Regions from separate parts of the Homo sapiens genome. Here region 1 is linked to region 2. The links are contacts of gene promoters, found by promoter capture Hi-C in blood cells and fetal thymus (Javierre and others, 2016). All regions are on one chromosome and are shown on one strand. Each heading gives the region's core, a stretch centred on a gene start or on the middle of the fragment in contact. The rest is flanking DNA. Distances are from core to core; before and after follow the strand shown.

What was found. The method cuts DNA at HindIII sites, captures the fragments that hold promoters and counts their contacts. A CHiCAGO score of 5 or more calls a contact.
Region 1: a contact is called between a fragment that was not itself captured here and the fragment with the promoter of UBR5 in region 2, in 1 of 17 cell types (fetal thymus). The highest score is 5.1, in fetal thymus.

The regions. Positions count from the first base shown.
Region 1 is chr8:102,848,908-102,855,269 of GRCh38, forward strand. The region is part of intron 2 of AZIN1 (antizyme inhibitor 1); the gene reads right to left. Among named protein-coding and RNA genes, the nearest start is that of AZIN1, 12 kb to the right of the region's middle. The HindIII fragment of the contact is 6,144 bases long and covers 1,579-6,362 here.
Region 2 is chr8:102,408,591-102,414,800 of GRCh38, forward strand. It overlaps UBR5 (ubiquitin protein ligase E3 component n-recognin 5), which reads right to left and starts at 4,110. Exons shown (of 59, transcript NM_015902.6): 1 at 3,583-4,110. The coding sequence starts at 3,644. It overlaps LOC105375683 (a long non-coding RNA gene), which reads left to right and starts at 3,749. Exons shown (of 5, transcript NR_168428.1): 1 at 3,749-4,421. RefSeq lists enhancers at 2,332-2,391, 2,502-3,280, 3,281-4,059, 4,434-4,703, 5,265-5,374 and 2 more and silencers at 3,474-3,913, 3,974-4,053, 4,084-4,283. The HindIII fragment of the contact is 11,584 bases long and covers 1-6,210 here.

The DNA.
Region 1 (6,362 bases), core at 3,401-5,900, 440 kb after region 2:
GACACAGCATGTTCTAGGGAGCAAGCATGAAAATAAGTGTGCATGTTTCGGGGGTGAGCAGTTTATACCTTACTCCAGATTCACTAAGTTAATCTACCTCAATCTTCAACACCACAGGGGGCTGGGCACAGTGTAATCCCAGCACTCTGGGAGGCCGAGGCAGGCAGATCACGAGGTTGAGATCGAGACCATCCTGGCCAACATGGTGAAACTTGTCTCTACTAAAAATATAAAAATTAGCTGGGTGTGGTGGTGCACACCTGTAGTCCCAGGTACTCAGGAGGATGAGGCAGGAGAATCACTTGAACCCAGGAGGCGGAGGTTACAGTGAGCTGAGATTGTGCCACAGCACTCCAGCCTGGTGACAGAGCAAGACTCCATCTCAAAACAAAAACAAGAAACAAAAACCCCCGCACAGGGACTCTTTCCAGGACGTCTCCATACCCTCCACTAAGAATGCAGACTCAAACCAAGGTGATATATCAAGTATCTCCTTGCAATTCTGAGTGGAAATAATTCCCAAAAGAAACTGTACCACTTCTTCTGGCTTACAGATCAGAAACAGGACTGATTTACTGGCTGCAACACATTCTGGTGCTATTGGACCTTGAACTAATTATATTAAACTTGAAAAAAAAACTACTCCATGTAAATCTTAGATTCTCTTCATTAGAACTGAACAGCAAATCTAGCTCTGATGTCTAGTATTATCAATAGACACTAGAAAGTATTCTCTACTCACAAGCACTTTTAAGCTATTTTCAACCACCTTATTAACATACGGTTGAGAAAGCTCAGGTTATTTTACACTAATACAGTAGCGTATAACCACAATACTACTTTTATTAATAATTTCCTCTTAGACTCATAACTGAGAAGAAAAAATATGTAACATCCCTTATTCACACCTTCATATGGGTGTTTTTTTAATACATTTTTCCATGAAGAGCTGCCAAAAGAAACAAAAGGCTCCAAAGAACCACACACTGCTCCCTGGAGCCTTTCATGAGGCCGCTGAGTCCTCATGTTCATCGACAGGGTAGCTCCAAGAGTAGTGGCTGCAGGAGCTGGGCACTTGCCTTGTTACACACCTGCTACAAAGGCTTCTACAGTTGATTGTACTTCAGAAGAAACTGATACATCTCTCAAATAATCACAAGATAATTCTGGCAGCAACAGCCCACTTGACACCAAGCTGGATGAATATGAGTCTTGGATTTCTGAAGTGAAGACCTCCCTGGAAGTAGAACAGGGAGAGCTGAAAGGTTGAGAATACTGTTTCAGAGATACCTAAGCAGGAAACCCAACCTTAATACATCAACCATTTTTCTAAAAGGATTTTTACTCATTAAAAATGAGAAAAGATATTCTGAAATTTACACTATTACTGTTACTCTGAAGATGCCTAGGTGCATTTCTACTTTTATTTTTACATAGGCATTTGATGACTTAGCACCCAGCTCACAGCTTTAAAAATATACAACGTTGCTTAAGTCCCCTCTGCATTCTACCTACAACAGAAAATGTTACTTACCACATAGAATACCTTTAAAAGTAATTGACCAGAAGAGCACTAGAAGCTTCTAAAGAATGACATCTACCATAGATGTGAGACCTTGAGTAGGTCTGAAACACTACAAAAGAATTCCAGGAAGCTATATACTGAAACTGGTAGGAAATCCTATAAATTTAGTGATCATAAGATCAGGTAAACTTCTGCCACCCTGGACCCCAAAATAAGTGATAGACAATAACAACAGCCTACATTGAGTACTCAGGATAAATCAGGACAAGGCTTGCTTCAATAAGAAAGCCAGTAATCACAATGCATACCCCTAAACTTATTTTTCAGGTGATGAGGTTGAAAAAACTGAGTAACCTTAGAGGAAGAAGACTAAAGGTGACTGCTAAAGATTTATTTTAAAAGAGAAGAACAAGAATGAATAGGAAATATATAAGGGGGCAAAAAATCCCAAAAGTTATAAGCCCAACAGGCTAAGTTTGAAGTGCCTGTGTAAAGACTGCCCAATGAACTGCCTCACCATAAATATTAAAATGTAGCTTAATGAGAAAACAAAATACACAATTCTCACAGCAATATTATTTTTGCACGTGGAATTAACACAATTAGACTCCCTTAAAAATGTCTTGACTATTCAATGTGAAGACTAAATTTTTTTTCTGGAGAAAATGTGTGTGTACTAAAGTGTGTGTGTACCTGCACTCAAGTGAAATATTTATATCCCTTTTGGCAATTAAGATGTGATAACATTAAAGATAACTATTACAATACAACATGAAGTACACAATCATATTAATTTCAAGTTTTCTAGCTTTCCTGATTACAATTAAGCATAGGGAATAATCCTTTAAAGAGACACACTATTTTGGTTACCTTAAGGCAGAGCTCATTGCCTGCCTGTCCACTACTCACCCAAGGAAAACATATAGAATACATGTGCAATACAGTAATTGCAACCAAGACCAAGTTAAGCAGGTTATTAAGAAATCAGATGCTGGCCGGACATGGTGGCTCACGCCTGTAATCCCAGCACTTTGGGAGGCTGACGCAGGTGGATCATGAGATCAGGAGTTCCAGACCAGCCTGGCCAAGATGGTGAAACCCTGTCTCTACTAAAAATACAAAAATTAGCTGGGCGTGGTGGTGGGCACCTGTAATCCCAGCTACTTGGGAGGCTGAGGCAGGAGAATCGCTTGAACCTGGGAGGTGGAGGTTGCAGTGGGCCAAGATCACGCCACTGCCCTGGGTGACAGAGCAAGACTGTCTCAGAAAACAAAAAAAAAGAAAGAAATAAGATGTAATATCTCAGAGGCCCCTGTACCTCTCCCTTAGAATTTGTTTAGACCTTCTCTAATCATCATTCCTTTGTTACTTAATGGTTTTATTCTTCTATGTGACCCTAAAACAGTGTTGGGCAATGTGGTACTTTACATTCTAGTACTAGAGTCCTTATTCCACTGGCTGGCAGTTTAAGTAGCACTGATCTAGGGACTACAGTCTATACCTGGGACTGGAACTGCTAGATTGTTAGTGGCAAACAGTTTTCAAGTCTTTTGCTCAGTTTCTTGTTTTTGCCTTTTATTTATCTGAAGGAGCTCTTCATGAATTTAGGATAGCAAACCTCTCATTAGGAGTATTATTTTTGGGGTGATTGTTTTGTCAGAATTTCCATGTTGAACATACCAGGATAACCCCATCCTACCTTTGGTCATGCCAAATATAACATGTTCATGCTGAACCTACATGAGCTAAGAAGATACCATACTTGTTTAGGAGATCTTTGCAAACTGGGCATCAGAGGATCCTTGCAGTAAAGAGCAAGAAGCAGATAAAAAGTAATCTGAAGTCAACATAAAGCTCATACTGCCAAGCATGGTGGCTCACGCCTGTAATCCCAGCACTTTGGGAGGCTGAGGAGGGCAGATCACCTGAGGTCAGGAGTTCGAGACCAGCCTGACCAACATGGCGAAACCTTGTCTCTACTAAAAATACAAAATTAGCTGGGCATGGTGGTGTGTGCCTGTAATTCCAGCTACTTGGGAGGCTGAGGCAGGAGAATTGCTTGAACTAAGGAGGCAGAAGTTGCAGTGAGACTGAACCACTGCACTCCAGCCTGGGCAACAAAGGTGAAACTCCATCTCAAAAAAATAATAGTAAAAAAAAAATTTTTTAATACAAAAATTAGCAGGGCGTGGTGGCATGCACAACGTGGCTGGACCTCATGATGGCTGGCTATGGCCTGGGCAGGTTGAACCTGACTATCCTAATCCCCGTAACCCAGTATGCTACACAGTATTTTCTACTCATGCATAATGTAAAAAACAGTGGATTAACGAAAAGGAGAGCTAAATATCTGCTTTAGTTAACTTGTGACAAATTGCTTGATTTGACTGGGCATGGATGTCCCTGGAATGGAGGAAGGACAAAATATCTGTGCTCCCTGGGGCCTCACCAGTATGTAAGCACTTCAACTTGGAAGAGTCTCCTTAGGCTTATCTGAACAATGGCCAGTTTAGAACAGTAGCCTGCCATATACTAGATTTTAAGGTTTACAAGCCTTTTTCATAGATGCAATATCTCATTTATTCTAATGGAAGTTAAATATCGCAAAAGGGATTGGTTTACCTGGGGTGGGGTATGGGGAGACCCAAACTGGAAAACTCTGAAACAAGATCAGGTTGGGTGAAGACTGTGATGGAACACACAGATTGGTAGTCAGTATTAATTTTCTCAGCTAAACTAACCTCTGTAATAAATGCAAAAGCCATTTATCCCGTTTAAAAACTGGTCTATGGTCGGGCGCAGTGGCGCATGCCTGTAATCCTAGAACTTTGGGAGGCCAAGGAAGGCGGATCATGGGGTCAGGAGTTCGAGACAAGTCTGACCAATATGGTGAAACCCTGTCTCTACTAGAAATACAAAATTAGTCGGGCATGGTGGTGCATGCCTATAATACCAGCCACTCAGGACGCTGAGGCAGGAGAATTGATGGAACCCGGGAGGTGGAGTTTGCAGTGAGCTGAAATCGCGCCACTGCACTCTAGCCTGGGCAACAAGAGCGAAACTTCGTCTCAAAAAAGAAAGAAAAAACTGGTCTACGTTGCTTTCCAATCTTTTTGACCTTCCTAAAAAAAATGCTAAATTTGCTCAAAGCAAGAAATACCATGTCTCTAAAACCTTGTTTATCCATTAATATGCTAGTATTCACATTGTGCTTTTACAGAATATTTTTCTGCTACTTTACACAAGCACTGACACACCATTGACTCTACTTTATGTATGCCAAGGGGATATACAGACTGTGTATTTCAACGATAGTGGTTTTACTCATCTTTTTGGTCAAAGAGTATCAACCGCCATTAATGAATGTTCTGTTACATTTGCTCATATCACAGTATCCTTAAAGTACCAAATATCATCTGTGAGAAATTAAATCGGGGGGTGGGGGGAGAAAAGAAAAAAAAGTACCAAATATCAAAACTGAAATTTTCCCCTTTCTCTGCAGTCAGGGTCAACAACCTCCCTTTCCCTTGAGACAGTCTTGCACTGTCTCCTAGTCTACAGTGCGGTGGCACCATCTTGGCTCACTGCAACCTCCGCCTCCCGGGTTCAAGCAGGCCTCAGCCTCCCTAGTAGCTGGGATTACATGCGTGCACCACCATGCCCAACTAATTTATTTTTGTATTTTTAGTAGAGACAAGGTTTCACCATATTGGCCAGGCTGGTCTCAAACTCCTGACTTCAGATGATCTGCCGGCCTCAGCCTCCCAAAGTGCTGGGATTATAGGTGTGAGGCACCGCACCCAGCGGACAACCTCCCTTTCCTACTGATAACTTACAGTGAAACATGAGGAAGGAGTACTAGCAAATTCGTAAAGAACATCTTTCCAGCCAGGCGCGGTGGCTCACGCCTATAATCCCAGCATTTTGGGAGGCAAGGGGGGCGGATCACCTGAGGTCTGGAGTTCAAGACCAGCCTGGCCACATGGTGAAACCCATCTCCACAAAAATACAAAATTTAGCCGGGCATAATGGTGGGTGCCTGTAATCCCAACTACTTGGGAGGCTGAGGCGGAAGAATCAGTTGAACCAGGGAGGCGGAGGTTGCAGTGAGCCAAGATTGTGCCACTGCACTCCAGCCTGGGCGAAAGGAGGAGACTCTGTCAAAAAAAAAAAAAATATATATATATATATATATTTTTTTTCCCTAGTTAAAATAATCCTAATTAGGTAGGGAGCTCCTACTAAGGCATGTGTAAATACTAAAGATTAGGAGACAAAATGTGAATATTTAAAATGCTGATGTTCTTCTGAAGTTCCTACATGAATATATAGAGCCGACTAATGACAACCAGGTAAAAAAAAAAACTTTTTAAAGCAAACTTGTTAAGAGCCCATTTAAGCAAATCAATTAACTGAATCCCTTTTCCATACTGCACAACATTAAAGGGTATGTGATAATGAATCTGACCACATCACTGGATCCACTATGAGAAGCAAACTTAGCTTTTTAAGTTTTAAAATATTTTCCATTAGGCTAATTCATTAATTATAATTAAACCTACAACCAAAATAAATAGAAAACTAGCCCACTGGAAAACCTTTACTCCAGCATCAAGACCTAGGGGATTTCTTTTTTTTTGAGACGGAGATTTGCTGTTGTAGCCTAGGCTGAAGTGCAATGGCACGATCTCGGCTCACTGCAGCCTCCGCCTCCCAGATTCAAGTGATTCTCCTGCCTCAGCCTCCCACGAGTAGTTGGCATTACAGGCACCTGCCACGACGCTCGACTAATTTTATATTTTTTTTTAGTAGAGACAGGGTTTCACCATGTTGGCCA
Region 2 (6,210 bases), core at 2,860-5,359:
AAGGACAATAAATGCCATAACCACATCACCTTAAGAAGACCTATCCTAACCTAGTACCAAGAAAAGGTTAAGAGCGTCAGCCTCTGAAAAAAAGGCATAAACCCATTAGGAGCCCTGGAAAGAGCAGTTGAGGGGAAAACGGAATCAAAACACTAAGACAGGTGGCCACACTGCCTGAAGGCTGGGATGTCTGAGACAGCAGAACCATTCTGGAATACAAGCCACGTGAAGTGGAATGGAGCCCTGGACTTTAAAGAAAAGTCAGAAGACCCATCAGGTGGACCTCAGCTGTCTCTCAGTAGTTGTATCCCTGCATAAACACTGTAAATCTCTGTGCCTATTTTTTCAGCTCATTAGTGAGGCACTTTCCAGGCTATTAGTGAGGCAGGCCTTTCAGCTCTCCCCTCAAGCTCGACGAACCACATTCTTTATATTGTTTTACTGTTTCTCTGAGACAATGTTTTAAGCAGGAACGTAGTACTAACTCAAGAAATCCATTGGAAAGGAGATCAAAATGTCCAAAGTATCTGAGCACTGAATGGTTTCAATTCAGCTCAATGAATATTTGCTTGAGGGCCCAGCATTCTGTGCCAGGCACCTTGTAATCATTCTGGGAAGTCACAGCCAACATCCTCTTCTTTCCACCCCAGCCATCCCCACCTGTATTTGTCAATTTCATCCTGGCATCATTATTATTCATTATTGGCAAGTCTGAAAACACAAATTATGAAAAAAAGATACTTTTTTATGCTTTGTACATTTTAGACACTTGAGACATCAGACTATGATGCTGAACAAAATATTTGACTTTTTAAGAGGATGTGGGTAAAGAAAGAAAACGTATTTGAAGAAAACACTACTGTTTTGAGGACCAAGTTTTCTTCAGCTGAGCAATTTATTTGCAGTACCATTCTGCCTGTCTAATCTTACTACTTTTATTCCAAAGTATAAAGTCTATTTACACCCTTTTCATACATAACTATGATTATCATTTTATTTGTGACTCTCATACATTTCTCATAATAAAAAAAGTCAAGCTACAGTAGCAGTAGCTTTTTTATTGCCCCAACTTACTAAAACTTGGTAAAGTTTTTATCTTTAGATGAAAATACGCTTATTCTAGTTAATTAAAAGGTTCCAGAAAACCAGTCTCTTTTGGAAACAGATTTTTCTCAAGTGACAGGTTGATCCTATTACAAGTAGGTATGCAAAAAGGAGCCCTCCTTTTGAAAGGGAAACACAGAACAGCTCCTGCCACAAATCAGCTACTTCAAAACTTAGGATATGTGCCTATCTTAAATGCTGCCTTCACAAATCTCAAAAGGCAAGACATGTTTACCGCTACTAGATACAACCATATAGCTCTTTATAATTTCACCTACGGCACCTTTCTATTTTTCAAATATCTGCCACCTTGATGCACATGTTATGACTCAAGTCTACTTTTTTCCTAATTTCATGAAATTAAAAGTCACTATGATCTAAATATTTTTAATGTTGTATAATGATAGAAGAATCAAACAAAGCTGATTGTTTATACTAGGAATGGAAAAAGAAGAGTTAGCATTTAAAAAGATACATTACTTGTAAATTTCTCAAATAGCTGAAGCAAAAGGAATGCTCAAAAATGAATCAAAGTGCCCAACACAACCGCAAAATAGGTTTTGGCATGCACAGCCAACTGAGTAAGCTAGTCAGGTTTCTTGGTACATAAAGTTAGGACTAATATAGAAAACATGCCCTACCTCTCTTCTCTCTGGTGCGGTTTTCTAAGTAACAAGACAAGCACTACCAACATGGTTCTGTTAATGACCGTAGAGCTATCCTCACTACTAGCCTGTTTCTAAATTTTACCAAAAAATTTTATGTTAATGTCTCCAAAAGATCTTTAATGAAGTAAAGTCAGGCTAAGAACCACATAACAAAATGTTAAATAACTAAAAAGTTATTTCAGAATTTAAAGGAACTATGTGACAACTCTGAGTAGTTAGTATTTTCAGTAAGTATTTCAAAAGATTCCCAAACATGTTAAATACAATATGGCTACAGCAAAGATTAGGCAAATCCGAACCAAGTGCAGAAACTAAACCGCCAGCTCTGGATTTAAAAGCTGTCTGCTCCACTTGAGGCGGTTAGATACACTGACACAAGAGGCCAGTATCTCAGCAGCAAGTTAGGCCTCTTCCTCCCTCTGGGAAGCGCATGACAAACAGGGCATCATGCAACTTAAGTCACCCGGTCACTTAGCAAAAATTCTATGTAACTTCTAAACTTGGGACCAGATGGCCTTCTATACGCAAAAGAAATGTAGAGAGCAGTGAAGTACTGGGAGAGAGGAAGACTTAAAATGCTCCACTTTGTGATCCTGTAAACATTTAGCCCATCATTAGATCTGAGTCTTAGATTCTAAGACATGCTTTAATGGAGGCCTCCCTCAACCTCCTGAGTCTGTTTTCCAACAGTGAAGGAACTTTTCCTGCCTTATCTCAGTTCCCTGAGAGCATGCGGCACTGCAATTCAATATCCTAAACTGGCAAGGAACGGTGGCGGAAGAAAAGGAGAAATCCAAACCAAAACAGCCTATAAAAGACAAAACATAAAATAAAATCATAATTCATCCTCCGCCCATAGCAAACCCAACCCAGAAATTTACAGCGTGTTAAGAAAAGCAGCATTGCGAACTGCAAACGTAAGAGTTTTCCTTTGACACTCTACGCACGGTTTTCAGCTGTCAAATTACAACTCAGGAAAACACTATCATTAGAATAGAAAAGGAAACAAAAAAGCTCGCACCACAGGGGCTAGTAGCAGGAGCTGCCAGCACCATTTCAGGAGGAGAGTAAAGGGAATCCAATGCACTTCCCCACCCCCGCTTGAATCCATCCCCTCCCGGGGCAGGCAAACCTCACTGCAGGGGCTCAAATTTAATAATAATAACAATAATCATGGCGCTTCCTCCCTCACTCCCTCCCCCAACTATCACCTTCCCCCCACCCCCCGCCCGCTCCCAGCAATCTGCCGGGAATCGGCTTCTCTCCCCAACCCGACCCCGGGATCCCCAGGTCCAGACCACCCCACCGGACACAGCTGCCGGGGGCCCGGGACAAGCCCAGCCCAGCCCACCCCGGGGCCCCTGGCCCCGCTTCTCCTCTTCCCTCTCTTTTTACCTCCACCATCCCCCATCCGCATTGTCTGTCTCAATTCAACTTTGACTAATATGGATTCCTCGGGCCTTGGCCGGGCAGTAATTACCGCCTGCCCCCCGGGAGCCAGAAACCACCCCCCCATCTCCGCCGAGTTCAACGCCGCTCCTTGCGGGAGGGGGAAGGGGGTTTACAGAGCGCTCTCCAGTCTACACCGCGAGTCCCGTCTACACCGCGCTCCCCCCGCGGCCCCCTGCCCCCGGGATGAGAAGTTTGCCCCGGAAGGAGCCTAGCAGGAGGCAGTAAGGACCCCCGCACCCCACCCCAGCTGGCCGGCCGGCGCGTAAACACCCGCACCCGCCCGGCACGGCCCGTGGGGGAGGGGAGGGAGGGAAGGGCGCCCCTCCCCCCGCGCCCGCCGACCCGCCAGCCCTATTACCTGTCATTGAGCTGGTCCTCGGTGCCCGGCAGCGGGTGAACCACGAAATGGATGGACGTCATGGTGCTTTCCTTCTCGTCCTCCACTCGAGGGCGGCCCCCTCCCGCTCTCGCCCGCCCCCCAGCCCTCTACCCCTCCCCAAAACCCACAGCCGCCGCCGCCTCCCAGTCCCCAAATGGAGGGAAGCAAATACGCAGGGGCCGCCGCCGCCTCCCTGCCGGGCGTGTGTCCGCGGCCCGGAGGGGCGGGCAGGAGGGCGAATCCACACGCCACCCGCTCCCCCGGCGACAGCGCGGAGTGCGAGGCAGGCGGCCGGGACCAGGGGCGCGCCGCCGGCCAGCGGCAGACGGGCGTTGGGAGAGGGGCGGCCGGGGGAGGAGAGGGGCGGCTGCTGGCTGCGGGCTACGGGGACGGTCTGGTCCCGGCGGCGGACGGGGTCCGGACTAGGGGAGGTGAGGAAGGAGGGGAAGGAGATGAGCCCGCACCGCGCGTCACTAGCGAGAAGCTGCCGCCGCCATCTTCACTTCTGCCCCAGTTTCTCCGTCTCGCAGGCTCCGCTCCGGAGCGGCGGGGGAGGGGCAAACGGGAGGAGGAGGAGGGAGGAGACCGGCGGGCGGGGGCGCGGCGGCGAGAGGCGGGGCTCCGGGAAACGGGCGGCAAGGCCCCCTCGATTGGGCTGCTCAACGTTGTCGGGCCACGACGCTGTAAGGCGCGTGCCGATTGGTCCGTTCGGCTCCCGAGCCCAGCCCCGCCGGGGGTGGGATGTCTCCAGAGTGAGTGTTCCGGAGAGCACGTGTTAGGGAAGGAGGAGGCTGCGGGCTAACCTGCCGGGAGGGAGGGTAAGTGTGTGTCCCAGAGGAGGCGAGGAGGAAGAGGGGCTCTTGTGTTCTTTCGCTCGGATTCCCCTGGGGCAGCCCTAATTATTTGGCGGATCCTTAGGGGTTTCTTGTTGCTTCTCATCCTTCATCCGCAGTTGTATTTATGGTGAAGTTGGTAAAATCAGTTAAGGGGCAAGACATATACAGCCTTTTATTGGAAAAGTAAGGAAATTATGTAAGGGCCTTTCCAGAAGGAGATAGTAGGATCCTGGAGTTGGCTTTGCAGCAACTTCTATTACCTCGGTCTCCCCAGTTTCCTCACCACCATCACATGCCCAAAGACAAAATGTGGAAATTTCCACTAATTTCCTGATATAAATGATTCGTGATTTTTTATTACTTTTAAATGAAAGATGATAAACCTGTTCTACAAAGGAGTTCAATTTATGATCAGTGGAATCAGAACGGAAAATTATTATTTTTTTTTTTTTTTTCCCCGAGACGGAGTTTCGCTCTTGTTGCCCAGGCTGGAGTGCAATGGCGCGGTCTCGGCTCACCTCAACCTCCGCCTCCCGGGTTCAAGCGATTTTCCTGTCTCAGTCTATGGAGTAGCTGGGATTACAGGCATGTGTCACCACGTCCGGCTAATTTTGTATTTCTTTTTTAGTAGAGATGTGGTTTCACCATGTTGGCCAGGCTGGTCTCGAACTCCTGACCTCAGGTGATCCACCCGCCTCGGCCTCCCAAAGTGCTGGGATTACAGGCCTGAGCCACCACGCCTGGCCGAGATAGGATCTTTTATACCGAGTTTCTACTATAAGACACTTTCAGAGTTTTGGCCACGGCGCACAGTGGCTCACGCCTGTAATCCCAGCACTTTGGAAGGCCGAGGATGTCGGATCACCTGAGGTTGGGAGTTCGAGACCAGCCTAGCCAACTTGGTGAAACCCCATCTCTACTAAAAATGCAAAAATTAGCCAGGCATGGCTGTGCGCGCCTGTAAACCCCACTACTCAGGAAGCTGAGGCAGAAGACTTGCTTGAACCTGGCAAGTTGCAGTGAGCTGAGATCATGCCACTGCACTCCAGCCCGGGCAACAGAACGAGACTCCATCTCAAAAAAAAATTTTTTTTAATCAAATAAGTCTGTTTTTTTTTCCCTAAGGAACCAATTCATGACTTTCTTCTCAAAGGTTTCTATGACCTCCTTTAAAAAATAAAGTACCTCTTCGAAGGCAAAAACTGAGAACATGACATTCCTTCTACAGAGGTGGTCTGTTAATGAATTACACACACACACACACAGTTTTGCTTAGGAAGTTCTTCTGAGCAAAATTTATGAAAAAATACTTACAAATCAGGACAGACCTGGTACCCTCAAGGCAGATAATGGAACACTTTTGTAGGTTACCAGCTCAACCATTGGCCCAGATTAGTTTAGACTAAAAAGTGATTTCAAGGTCACTATTAGATGTCCCTGGGAGCCCTGAGGAAGGAAGGTAGACCAGTAGACACTGCTAGATTTCAAGCCAAACAGATCTAAAAAAAATTTTTTTTTTTTGAGACGGAGTCTTTGCTCTGTCGCCCAGGCTGGAGTGCAATGGCACGATCTTGGCTCACTGCCACCTCCGCCTCCTGGGTTCAAGTGATTCTCCTGCCTCAGCCTCCCGAGTAGCTGGGATTACAGGCGCTGCCACCATGCCTGGGTAATTTTTGTATTTTTAGTAGAGACAAGGTTTCACCATGTTGGCCAGGTTGGTCTCGAACTCCTGACCTCAGGTGATCCACCCACCTCGGCCTCCCAAAGTGTT